Linked DNA regions of Homo sapiens: all the other regions are linked to region 3. Evidence: promoter capture Hi-C in 16 types of primary human blood cells and fetal thymus (Javierre and others, 2016). All regions are on one chromosome and are shown on one strand. Each heading gives the region's core, a stretch centred on a gene start or on the middle of the fragment in contact. The rest is flanking DNA. Distances are from core to core; before and after follow the strand shown.

The links. Contacts are between HindIII fragments. The CHiCAGO score rates a contact against its expected background, and 5 or more counts as called.
Region 1: the fragment with the promoter of OR56A3 here is called in contact with the fragment with the promoter of OR52B6 in region 3 in 4 of 17 cell types (M2 macrophages, megakaryocytes, non-activated CD4 T cells and 1 more); the score reaches 8.3 in M2 macrophages.
Region 2: a contact is called between the fragment with the promoter of OR52E8 here and the fragment with the promoter of OR52B6 in region 3, in 15 of 17 cell types (M2 macrophages, M1 macrophages, monocytes and 12 more). The highest score is 9.7, in M2 macrophages.

What each region holds. Positions count from the first base shown.
Region 1 is chr11:5,940,059-5,944,171 of GRCh38, reverse strand. OR56A3 (olfactory receptor family 56 subfamily A member 3) reads right to left here and starts at 1,921. Exons shown (of 3, transcript NM_001003443.3): 1 at 1,798-1,921. The HindIII fragment of the contact is 14,826 bases long and covers 1-4,113 here.
Region 2 is chr11:5,856,256-5,859,863 of GRCh38, reverse strand. It overlaps OR52E8 (olfactory receptor family 52 subfamily E member 8), which reads left to right and starts at 2,174. Exons shown (of 1, transcript NM_001005168.3): 1 at 2,174-3,115. The coding sequence starts at 2,174. The coding sequence ends at 3,115. The HindIII fragment of the contact is 1,911 bases long and covers 1,307-3,217 here.
Region 3 is chr11:5,578,123-5,582,126 of GRCh38, reverse strand. OR52B6 (olfactory receptor family 52 subfamily B member 6) reads right to left here and starts at 1,250. Exons shown (of 1, transcript NM_001005162.2): 1 at 243-1,250. The coding sequence starts at 1,250. The coding sequence ends at 243. RefSeq lists an enhancer at 714-1,008 and a silencer at 714-1,008. The HindIII fragment of the contact is 3,709 bases long and covers 1-2,615 here.

The DNA of each region.
Region 1 (4,113 bases), core at 672-3,171, 360 kb before region 3:
AGTGGCTCACTGAGAGTAAGACATACTGGAGTTACAGGAGGTCCTCAAGATAATAACCCCTAGAACAAAACTTCCAGCCTCCAGTTGGTGACTAACGACCCTTCTTCATGCCCTGGGCACTATGTTCATTCACTTCTTTTCCTTCTCTGTCTTTGAATACATTAACTTGTAAGTGTGGAACAAAAACCAGTAAGACCTTCTAAGCCTAGAACTTGGCATAATTGACCCAACCCCAATTAACTTTGCACCCACAGCAAGTACAACTATAGGCTGTTAAATTCCACATATTCCCTTTAAACACTATCTTCTGCATTACTTTCTTGTCATTTATTCCTTTGCTCATTGCATCCTCTGATCCTACTTTCTGCAAAATTTTTACAGTTAAAAATCACAGCCTCTTGGTTAGTTGTATTCTCAGGTATTTTATTCTTTTTGTGGCACTTGTAACTAGGATTGCATTCTTGATTCAGCTCTTAGCTTGAACTTTATTGGCGTACAGAAATGCTACTAAGTTTTGTACATTGATTTTGTATCCTGGAGTCCTTTATCTGTTCTAGGAGCCTTTTGCAGTGTATGAAGGGGACTTAAACTTCAGAAATGTTTTATTTTATTTTAAAAAACCTGAAGCAAATAAGGTGGTTTTTTTTTTTTTTTTTTTAAAGAAAATCACAGCCCCAAATCTTACCTTTCCAAGTAGCTTTTCTTCTCCAGGGGTCACAAAGGACTCCTAGAAGGAATTAAATGTTTTGTGCTTGGAAGTAGAGAAAATCTTGAAATGACCTTTGCAGGGTAGAGCCAAATGGAAGATCTAGTGACTTAGGCATGAGTATCCATAGAGAAGCCTAGAGGAAAAAGTATATTTTCTGTCTCTTGAAGAGCTTTGGGATAATTATTTTTAGCACTAAGATGAAATTTCTGAGGATTACATGGGAGGATTATTTTATTTTTCTAACTCACTGACTTTTCCTTTTTCCTTCTATTTTCTCTAATGTTTCTGCATGTTTTTCAATCATTCAACAAGCATCAATAAAGTACTCATCCCTAGAAGTAAAGCATCTGGAAACACATTTGCTCCTTTTCTCCTTTCATTATTCAATCTTGGTTTGTAATCAAAACTTGCCAATGGCACACTAGGGCTTAGGAACTGGAGCTAATGGTTTCCAGTTCCAGCCAGGAACAAGATGAGAAAGCCAAAGAAGTTGAAGCTCAAAGACTAAAGGAGAGACCATCAGCCTAGGCTTTCCCAGGTTGCAAGATAGGCCCACAGAATAGTGCCAAAGAAACCCTGTTTTAAAAAGTAAAAGAGTTGCTAGGGTTCTATCTTGGTAAAATTCAGGCAGGCCTGTAAGATACCTCTCTCAGGTGTAGTTTCAGATATTATTCAGTGCATCCAGTGACAGGTAGCTAGCTGCTCTTCTGGGCGTAGTTTTCTGTTCTTGTCAGAAGTAGATTTTAGCAATTTTGATCAGAAATATTTTGAACTACTTCCTGACTTCCACTGGTCCTGAACTGTGGTCTTTGTCTTCAACCTCTGAAGTTATAGAAACTAATGTAATTCTAACTTTATAATTCAGACACTGGTAGGCATATTCTTTGTTTTCAAGCCACTAAATTTCCATATTCAGAGTTGAAAACTCCAAATTTTCTTTACTTGGCTCCAAATTATGCACTTTTTAGCTCTCATACTGCCTGTTAATCTTCTATAGACAAATTGCAACTTTCCTGCATTTCTGCTACCACCAAGCACCCAGAGGATGGCAAAAGAGAGAAGGTCCCAGAGCACATAAGCCTCTTTACCTGAGACAGGGTGCAGTCTTTATTTATTTCCTTCTCAGACTACTTCAGCAGTATTGACGCAGGAATGGAAAAGAGCACAGATAGGGACTGAAGACAGAGATCTCTCTAGTCTTCTGGCTAATCTTTGTATAGCCACCATTAACATCCTCTAGCCAGACTCACAGAAAATGTGAAGCATGGGGTTTGGCTCCATTAATATTGGAGCTCTTGTTAGTTTCAGAAGTATCTGGGGCAGTTATAATTGTAGTGCCTCAGAAACTCTGACCTCTGGGAACTTCTTAATCCCTCTTCCCGTAGGACCAAAAGGTCCTCCTGGGAAAAACAGGCAGTTAGATGGGAGAAGAAAATTATTCTCTTTCTTTCTGTGACAAAAAACCCCCGGTAATCCAGTGCTACACTGACTGCTTGTCCTGTAGGCAGTAAGTACGTCTCCTGGGTACAGGGATCTTATGTTCACATCCATCTGTGTTCATATTCATCTGCCTATGCACACTGAGCAGCTTCTGTGGATCCAATAAGTGAATGGAAATTTTTGTGGGCTTCCTGCTTGTTTTGTTTGATAGGCACTGCCCAAACCATGCTATTGAATGGATTGGTGTTAATCTATCATGACTTTTATGAAGGTATTATGATAAAAATGCAAGAGAAAACTGAACAAAATCTTACTGAGAAAATGCAATGTGATATTCAGAGAAAAAAGACCTATAATAATTTTTTTTGTGGTGAGAGGTTTAAAAATGGAATTTATAAATAACCCAATATTAGTTAGCAACTATGTTTTTCCTTTAGGTTTTATTTTCATTTTGAACCTTATATGAATTATTCACACTTATCAACTAATGGAAACAAGCATCATAAGTTTCTTCAAGACTTTTGCTTTATTTCTTTTCCTGTATTTTCCAACATTCCTCCTATTTCCCTTCCCTTTAGGAAAGTGAAAACTCCAGTGGATTTAAAATATATCTTTCTAATTAATTTTCAGTATGCTTATACAGGGATATACTTAATTTATGAAAAAATTCTTTTAAAATTGAATTTATATAACTGTCACTGGGTTGTAAATCTGTTATTCTTTTTCTATCAATGCTATATCTTCAAATTTATACATGTTGCTATGTGTAAGTTGACTTTATTATTTTTTACTGCTGTTCACTACTAAGAAAGACCATTTGAGAATTTTCCCCAATGCCTTATGAATTATAATGCTTTCCTTTCTCGACGGTGGAAACAGATACTATTTCAGGCCCTGTGTGTTGATTGGATACTGTTCTCACTAATTCTTTTAGGTGCCCTCCTCCCTTCCTCCACCTTGGTTAGTGTCCTCATCTGCACACATTCATTCATTACTTGAGGAAGATCCTCTGTAGGTTTTCAGGCTTCTCTCTGTGTGCAGCTTTCTTTTCTCCAGTATTCTTTCTTGCGAGCTTTAGCGGGTTTGGTCTTTCTGTACTCCAATTACATCTCCTCCACTTAGGGACTCCACTGAGTTCCATTTGGTCTTGCTTCCCTGCACTGCAGCCTGGAAACTCTTTGAAGACAGAAAACTGGGGTAGTTGTAGGGCCTGCCTCATTTGTTTCACATATTTCAGGGATAACTGTCCTTACTTGCCTGATGTCTACTGTCTTGAAACTCATTGTTTACTATATTTTATTCCACTTTTGGTTTGTTTTGTTTTAGGTCAGTTAGGAAAGCAAATTCAGTCCCTTTCATCATATCTTGGCTAGAAGCTGAATAATATGAGAATTTTTAGAGTAATTTAATTCACCTCATCAGTATTTGTTGTAGCTGATCTCAAAAGATGCCCGCCCCCAATGTAGCATGCTAGTGAGGAATCAATACTTTGTATGATCCCCTTATTTTCAATCTGAGATGAGTCTTGGATTCACTTTTGGTTAAAAGAATGTGTTGGAAGTGAAACTGATTGAATTCTGAGACAAGCTCCTAAGAGGCCTTGTAGCTTCTACCAGCATCTCTTAGTTAAGTTGTTTAGGGGGATATCTGACTGCACTGAGACAGTTTTGCTGTGATGAAGCCCCAGTTAGCTATATGGAAAAGACTCACAAAGAGAGGCCTCTGCTCAGTCATGCTCTGATGTTTGAACCATCTCAGACATGTGAGTAAAAAAGTTATATTGGACATCCCAGCTGCAGTACATGTCACACGAGTTAGAACCAAGAAATTCAGCTGACAGGTACACGGTACAGCGTAGCTGTCACGGTCACATCCAGTAATTCAATCCATCCCAGCTCATGACCCAGTCACTGTTGTGCAGACAAGATTTCCCCACTGTTCCCTTTCTGAATTCACAATGCACA
Region 2 (3,608 bases), core at 925-3,424, 280 kb before region 3:
TTTCAGTTCATGCTGTATGGAGCCCCTAAACATGACCAAGACATCAGACTTAATAAGAATCTCTGGATAAGACCATTGAAGAGGATGACTGATTTCATTTTTATATCCTAAGTGGCCACTGTGCTTTTTTTCCCACTTTGCCCCTGCTTATTTATACAGAATAAAATTTTCTTTCTTTTTTGTCAGAAGAATTTCTCTGTAAGTCAGCATAAGCCTAACTTCCTCTATACAATTTTTCTTGACTCACCTCTACATTTAAAACATCCTGTGCACATTTCTACCATAGCACTTGCAGTACAGTTCTTAAATTTCATGTTTGGAATTTTATCTTCTTTACTACGTGGTGATTTCCTTAAGGATATATGACCAGTTTTATTCATTTTTTGTATTTAAACTTCCTAATTACCACTGATACATAGAGAACCTCTTCAATATTTGATGGGATAAATTGTGAAAGGTATTTCGCTGCCTATTTTGTGTATTCTCAATTAGTGAAAAACAGGAAGTTTATACCCTTATCTCTGATAGTTTCACCCAAGTTTATACACACACATTCTCTCTCTCTCTCTCTCTCTGAAATAATTTCCCAAATTATCAAATAATCTCTCATTTTTGCTATTCTTCGTATGCTTCAAATAGGTACTACCAGCAATGCATTTTTGTTGTTACAGGATTAAAGTAGAACTTGCTGACATTCACACACTTTTATCTCTGCTGCGTACGTCTCAATTCTGACTTCCCCCAATGTTCAAGTATTCTTAAATTGTAATCAATGCTTTTTGTGTAGTTGCCACGTCACATTTAACCAATTCCGCATTATCTGTAAAACTAGTTTTTCCCAAGTAAAAGTAAGTTGCGCAGTAATGAACTTTTTGCTTCAAATTTTGAATTTACTATCTGTAAATTCAGGATTTACTATCCGTAAATTCAGGATTTACTATCTGTAAATTCAGGATTTACTATATTGGAGACATCCATAGAGACAAAACAGCTGGGATAGAATTTGAGTAGCAGCTAAACTGTAGGTCATCCAAAGGGCTTCTACTTTCTTCCCATGAATATAAGACTGAGATATATTTGAAAATTTTGTAGCCCAGAATATTTAGTTTCCTTGCCACAGAAAAAGCTGGCCTATATATAAACAGTTTCTTTACTGAATGCGTGTATTTATGCACTCTCCAAATAATAGGATTATCTAGATTAAAATTATCTCTTCATCCATGTTCCATCATAGCTGCAAAATACTCTTTGTCAAGTATTTTCTTTTCCTTGTTTTTACCCATTTTCCAAATCCGATGGATAAGCTTCTTTTCTCAAACACAGGTGTGATGGAAACTAAATTATTTATTTCCTAAAATATGACATTAAAATTACCCACAGTTTTGCCTCCTTGTAATCAATGTCTATTTGTGGAGGTTTTAAATTGAGAACTATTATGTAGCAGATCTTTTTCCTGCATATGAGCAAGATAAATTGTTTCTTCTCTCAGAAGTATACAGTCTAGTAGTCACAAATTGTATACAGTATACACAGTCTAAATTGTATACAGAAGTATACAGTCTAGTAGTCACAAACTGTATACAGTATATACAGCCTAAATTGTATACAGAAGTATACAGTCTAGTAGTCCCAAATTGTATACAGTATAGTCTAAATTGTATATAGAAGTATACAGTCTAGTAGTCACAAATACCTGTAAAAATGCATAACAACACAGAAACGGTTTTACACACTACATTTTTGATTCCCAAATAGAGGAATAGTTGAGATTACAAATACCTTGATCGTGAAGCAAAAATATGTGTAACATTTCTATAGACACTGACCCTGGAACTTTATTTTTCTCATTTAGTTCTGGCTAAATTCCAGATTTTGCATTTTTATTTGGCAGATGACATTCTTCTGCCATTTCTTTTTATATTAGTCTTTGATATTAGGTGAAGGGGCAGTAGAATAAGACTGGTTCTATTCCTGGTACCAATGTTGCTCAGGAGAGGCTAGGAGAAATTGTGGAGAGTATTTTACCTTACTCATGAATATATATAAAGAAAGATTAATATGTTATTGTGAATTTGACTAGAAATCTGAACAAAAGAAGAAGTGGAACAAGAATTACTAATAGGAATATTATAATCGTCGCTGGTGTGCCCAGCAGCTTTATATGGCAGGAAGAATGTCTACGTCTAATCACACCCAGTTCCATCCTTCTTCATTCCTACTGCTGGGTATCCCAGGGCTAGAAGATGTGCACATTTGGATTGGAGTCCCTTTTTTCTTTGTGTATCTTGTTGCACTCCTGGGAAACACTGCTCTCTTGTTTGTGATCCAGACTGAGCAGAGTCTCCATGAGCCTATGTACTACTTCCTGGCCATGTTGGATTCCATTGACCTGGGCTTGTCTACAGCCACCATCCCCAAAATGTTGGGCATCTTCTGGTTCAATACCAAAGAAATATCTTTTGGAGGCTGCCTTTCTCACATGTTCTTCATCCATTTCTTCACTGCTATGGAGAGCATTGTGTTGGTGGCCATGGCCTTTGACCGCTACATTGCCATTTGCAAACCTCTTCGGTACACCATGATCCTCACCAGCAAAATCATCAGCCTCATTGCAGGCATTGCTGTCCTGAGGAGCCTGTACATGGTTGTTCCACTGGTGTTTCTCCTTCTGAGGCTGCCCTTCTGTGGGCATCGTATCATCCCTCATACTTATTGTGAGCACATGGGCATTGCCCGTCTGGCCTGTGCCAGCATCAAAGTCAACATTAGGTTTGGCCTTGGCAACATATCTCTCTTGTTACTGGATGTTATCCTTATTATTCTCTCCTATGTCAGGATCCTGTATGCTGTCTTCTGCCTGCCCTCCTGGGAAGCTCGACTCAAAGCTCTCAACACCTGTGGTTCTCATATTGGTGTTATCTTAGCCTTTTTTACACCAGCATTTTTTTCATTCTTGACACATCGTTTTGGCCATAATATCCCACAGTATATACATATTATATTAGCCAACCTGTATGTGGTTGTCCCACCAGCCCTCAATCCTGTAATCTATGGAGTCAGGACAAAGCAGATTCGAGAGAGAGTGCTGAGGATTTTTCTCAAGACCAATCACTAACCAGTTGGAGGTTGGAGAGTCTGTCACTCTAACCTAATAGAAAGCAGAAAAACAGAAGGGAATGCTGCAGCCAATAACATTATTTATCTGTTAACTGAAGCTTTTGACTTTAATTATAATAATGAGAATTTTACCCTTGTCGAACTCTCCTTTTCCAAGTTCTTTTATTTCTATTGCTGGATCCTCAAGGCAGTTTTATAAAGTATGTATTAGTTTTTCCATTCTTGTGATTAATATACTTATGTTCGGAAAAGTTGAGTGATTTACTCAAACTACATGTTTAATAGGAAGTAGTAATTTAAGCCAAATAGACTGCCTTATAGTTTTCTTTAGTATGTTTAAGAAATAACAGAATACGGAATAAAATTCTTACTTTAAAAAGATAATAAACAGAATAAGTGGCTTCTAGAATTCTTAAAATAATAATAATAGCTTACTCTAGTAATAATATTAACATACCATAGATGCAGTGTAGATATATGGGTATTGACAG
Region 3 (4,004 bases), core at 1-2,500:
TTTCTTGAGGTGATGGGAAATCAGATTGCATTTCAATAGGAAGAGTAAGAGAATGAGACAGATTTTACTAAAGATTTCCAATAAAAGAAATCAGAGGTGGGTTTGAATAGGTGACATATTTAAAAAAATTGGGAGATCGATGAGAATAACACAGGGATAATTGGAAGATGTAGAGGTGAGAATGGGCTAAATACGGGACAATTGATAGGTATAGAAAAGGGTTGAGACTAAGTTGAAAGCATTTATTTAGATCCTTTGGCAAGATTTGAAAACATCTGCTTAGCCCCTTCCAGTATTGGCTTAGTCCTCACTCCATAAATAACGGGATTGAGCATAGGAGGAATGACAACGTAGAGGCTGGCCAGGAGAATATGGACATAGCATGGGACGCTTCTCCCACCAAACCTGTAGGCAAAGACAGAAAAAAGCGCAGGGACATAGAAGAGTAGGATGACACAGATATGGGATCCACAGGTACTCAGGGCCTTGGAGCGGGCATCTTGAGAAAGGAGGCGGAAGACTGCTTGGAGGATGTGGATGTAGGAAACAGTAATAAGCATGATGTCTAGGCCTGTGGAGAGAAGAGCAGCTGCCAACCCATACCAGACATTGATGGAGATATCAGAACAGGACAGATGGGCAATGCCCATGTGCTCACAAAATGTGTGTGCAATGATATTGATCTGGCAATAGTGCAGGTGCTCAAGGAGAAAGATGGATGGAAACATAATGATGAAGCTGTGGCTCAGGGCGGCAGTGACGATCTTCCCAATGACCTTGCTTGTGAGGATTGTGACATATCGCAGGGGGGAGCAGATGGCCACATAGCGGTCAAAGGCCATGGCCAGCAGGACAGCAGAGTGAATGAAGAGGAAGTGAATGAAGAACATCTGAGTGAGGCAGCCATCAAAGGAAATGAGGCTATAACCTAGCCACAAATTGGCCAGGGCCTTAGGCATGGTGGTGGTAGAGAGCAAGACATCAGCACTGGCCAGCATAGATAAGAATATGTACATGGGCTCATGCAGGATTGCCTGGGAGAGGATGACACAAATTAGGATGCCATTGCCTTCCAGGGCAGTGATGTACATGATGCAGAAGGGGATGGACAGCCAGATATGTAGTTGCTCCAGCCCAGGGATGCCAGTGAGGAAGCAGCCTGCTATGCGAGTGTCAGAGTTGTTCATAGCACCTATGCTGTTAGCAGAAAAAAGGGCCATGATTTTATGCAGCGCCCTCACCTGTGCCATAGGGAAAAAAGAGCTTCAGATTTTTGAATACATTAGTAGAGTGTCCATATGCACAAGGCCTGCATATACTTACAGGCCCGATGACAGTTATGGCTTCTGCACACAGGCATATCTCTACAGATAATCACACACAGGCTCTGCACACAGCCATATTCTCCGTAAATAATTACACATAGGCTCTGCACAGTTACAGGACCTGCCCACAGACAGGCTCAGTGTTCTTACTCAGAAGCTCTCCACACAGCTTTAAGAATTTCAGGAAACTAGGCCGGGCGCAGTGGCTCACGCCTGTAATCGCAGCACTTTGGGAGGCTGAGGCTGGTGGATCACGAGGTCAGGAGTTCAAGACCAGCCTGGTCAAGATGGTGAAACCCTGTCTCTACTGAAAATACAAAAAATCAGCTGGGTGTGGTAGCAGGCGCCTGTAATCCCAGCTACTCGGGAGGCCGAGGCAGGAGAATCACTTGAACTTGGAGGGCGGAGGTTGCAGTGAGCCGAGATCGCGCCACTGCACTCCAGCCTGGGCGACAGAGTGAGACTCCGTCTCAAAAAAAAAAAAATTTTTTTTCAGGAAACTAAAGGGCTCAAAAACATTGCCAGACTCAGCACAGTGCCATAGGTCCAGAAAAGAACAGGGATAGGTAGAACATCAAAACCAATCTGTACAATCTCTTTGGGCATGTGAACTGTAATGAGCTCTGCAAAAGCCCCAGGCCCTACAGAGAGGACTGCAGTCCTACAACAAGAGGACTAAACAACAATTTGATTAGCAGATTATGTGAAAGAGTAGGGTTGGGGGTGGTGGGCACTGCCAACCCTACACCCATTTTTCCCTAGGCACAGATGCGCTAAGTATGAAGGCAATTAAGGTAGCTACGGCATTTAGAAAGAACACCGCAGAGGGTGTGAAAAAACCTGGGTCAGAGGTCTGCCCTGTTAACTATTGGCTGCTTGATCTTGGACAAGTCACTGTCTTCTCTGAGTAACAATTTTCTTTCTTTCTTTCTTTTTTTTTTTTTTTTGAGACGGAGTCTCGCTCTGTCGCCCAGGCTGGAGTGCAGTGGCGCGATCTCGGCTCACTGCAAGCTCCGCCTCCCAGGCTCACGCCATTCTCCTGCCTCAGCCTCCCAAGGAGCTGGGACTACAGGCGCCCTCCACCACGCCCGGCTAATTTTTTTGTATTTTTGGTAGAGACGGGGTTTCACCGTGTTAGCCAGGATGGTCTCGATCTCCTGACCTCGTGATCCACCCACCTGGGCCTCCCAAAGTGCTGGGATTACAGGTGTGAGCAATTTTCTAATTTTTAAAATGAGCATAATTGTTGTTTTGTTGGTATATTAAGCTAAATTTTCTCTGTGGAAAGCTTATTAAATTGCGTGTGACTTCCTGAGTCACCTCTGTGGCTGTGAAATGTGGCACTGTCATCCAGAGCAGAAAGGAAGGTGTAGAACAATGCTTCTGAAGCTTGGTCTCCACAGCACCATCAGGGAACTTGTAAATTCTTCGGCCCTACCACAAACCTACGGATGAGAAAACCTAGAGTTGGGATAACATTCTGTGTTTTAGCAAGCTCTCTAGGTGATTCTGATTCATGCTGAAGTTTGTGAGCCACTGATGTAAGAACTTTTTGAACTTTCTTCCCTATCTACTCTAGATGTCTATCAGTTCCACCAGGATCATTACCTTTTAGTATCCATTGGTTTCCCCTGCATCTGTAAATTCTCAGACTTCAACTAAATCTAACTAGTGTTATCCTCAGCTTACATAGTCAGGATGTGAAAAAATGACACAATCACATAAGTAGTCTTTAGTACATATTAGGACACATGATTCCTCCTTAGTCCTATTGAACTATTCTCACAATGAATATACGACTTTTTTTTTTTTTTTGAGATGGAGTCTCACTCTGTCTCCCTGCCTAGAGTGCAATGACGTGATCTCCGCTCACTGCAACCTCTGCCTCCTGGGTTCAAGTGATTCTCCTGTCTCAGCCTCCCAAATAACTGGGATTACAGGCGCCCACCACCATGCCCAGCTAATTTTTTTTTTGTATTTTTAGTAGAGATGGGGTTTCATCATGTTGGCCAGGCTGGTCTTGAACTCCTGACCTCAAGTGATCCAGCTGCCTTGGCCTCCCAAAATGCTGGCATTGGCCTCCCAAAGTGCTGGTGGCTCCCATATGTGAGCCACCACACCTGGCATATACGACTTTTATCACTGCCCAAATTCTGTTTTTCTCTCTCCACTGAATGTTTCTCTTTTGTAACTCACATTTCAGGACTATCAGGAACATATCCCTCATATTATTCCTTTCCTGTACATTTATTTATCTCTGCATCCATCCTCCCCTCATTTCCTCCAGTCCCAGAGAAAGAGGTGCCAGTATCTTTCCTATTTTCCAATGTTTCTTTTGTCATAGCTGGAACATATTTTACTTTACCTAAATATAAGACAAGTTTCTTGAGTTATTTTTTGAGGTGCTGGGAAATGAACCTAGGGCCTCGTGTATGAATATTTAACATATTAGATTGTTTTTAAAACAACCTTATACACACACAAACATACATATGCATACTTACATGCATGCATTCATATGTGTACATATATACATATGCATGTATATACATGTGTTTATGTGTATGAATGTATGTAGCTGTATCGTCAAGAATAATTTCCCCATCTATTCTCTGAATTACCTTTCTTTCCTACCAATTCAGGGACTTTGTTTCATCAATTATTCTCTGTCTTTATCTT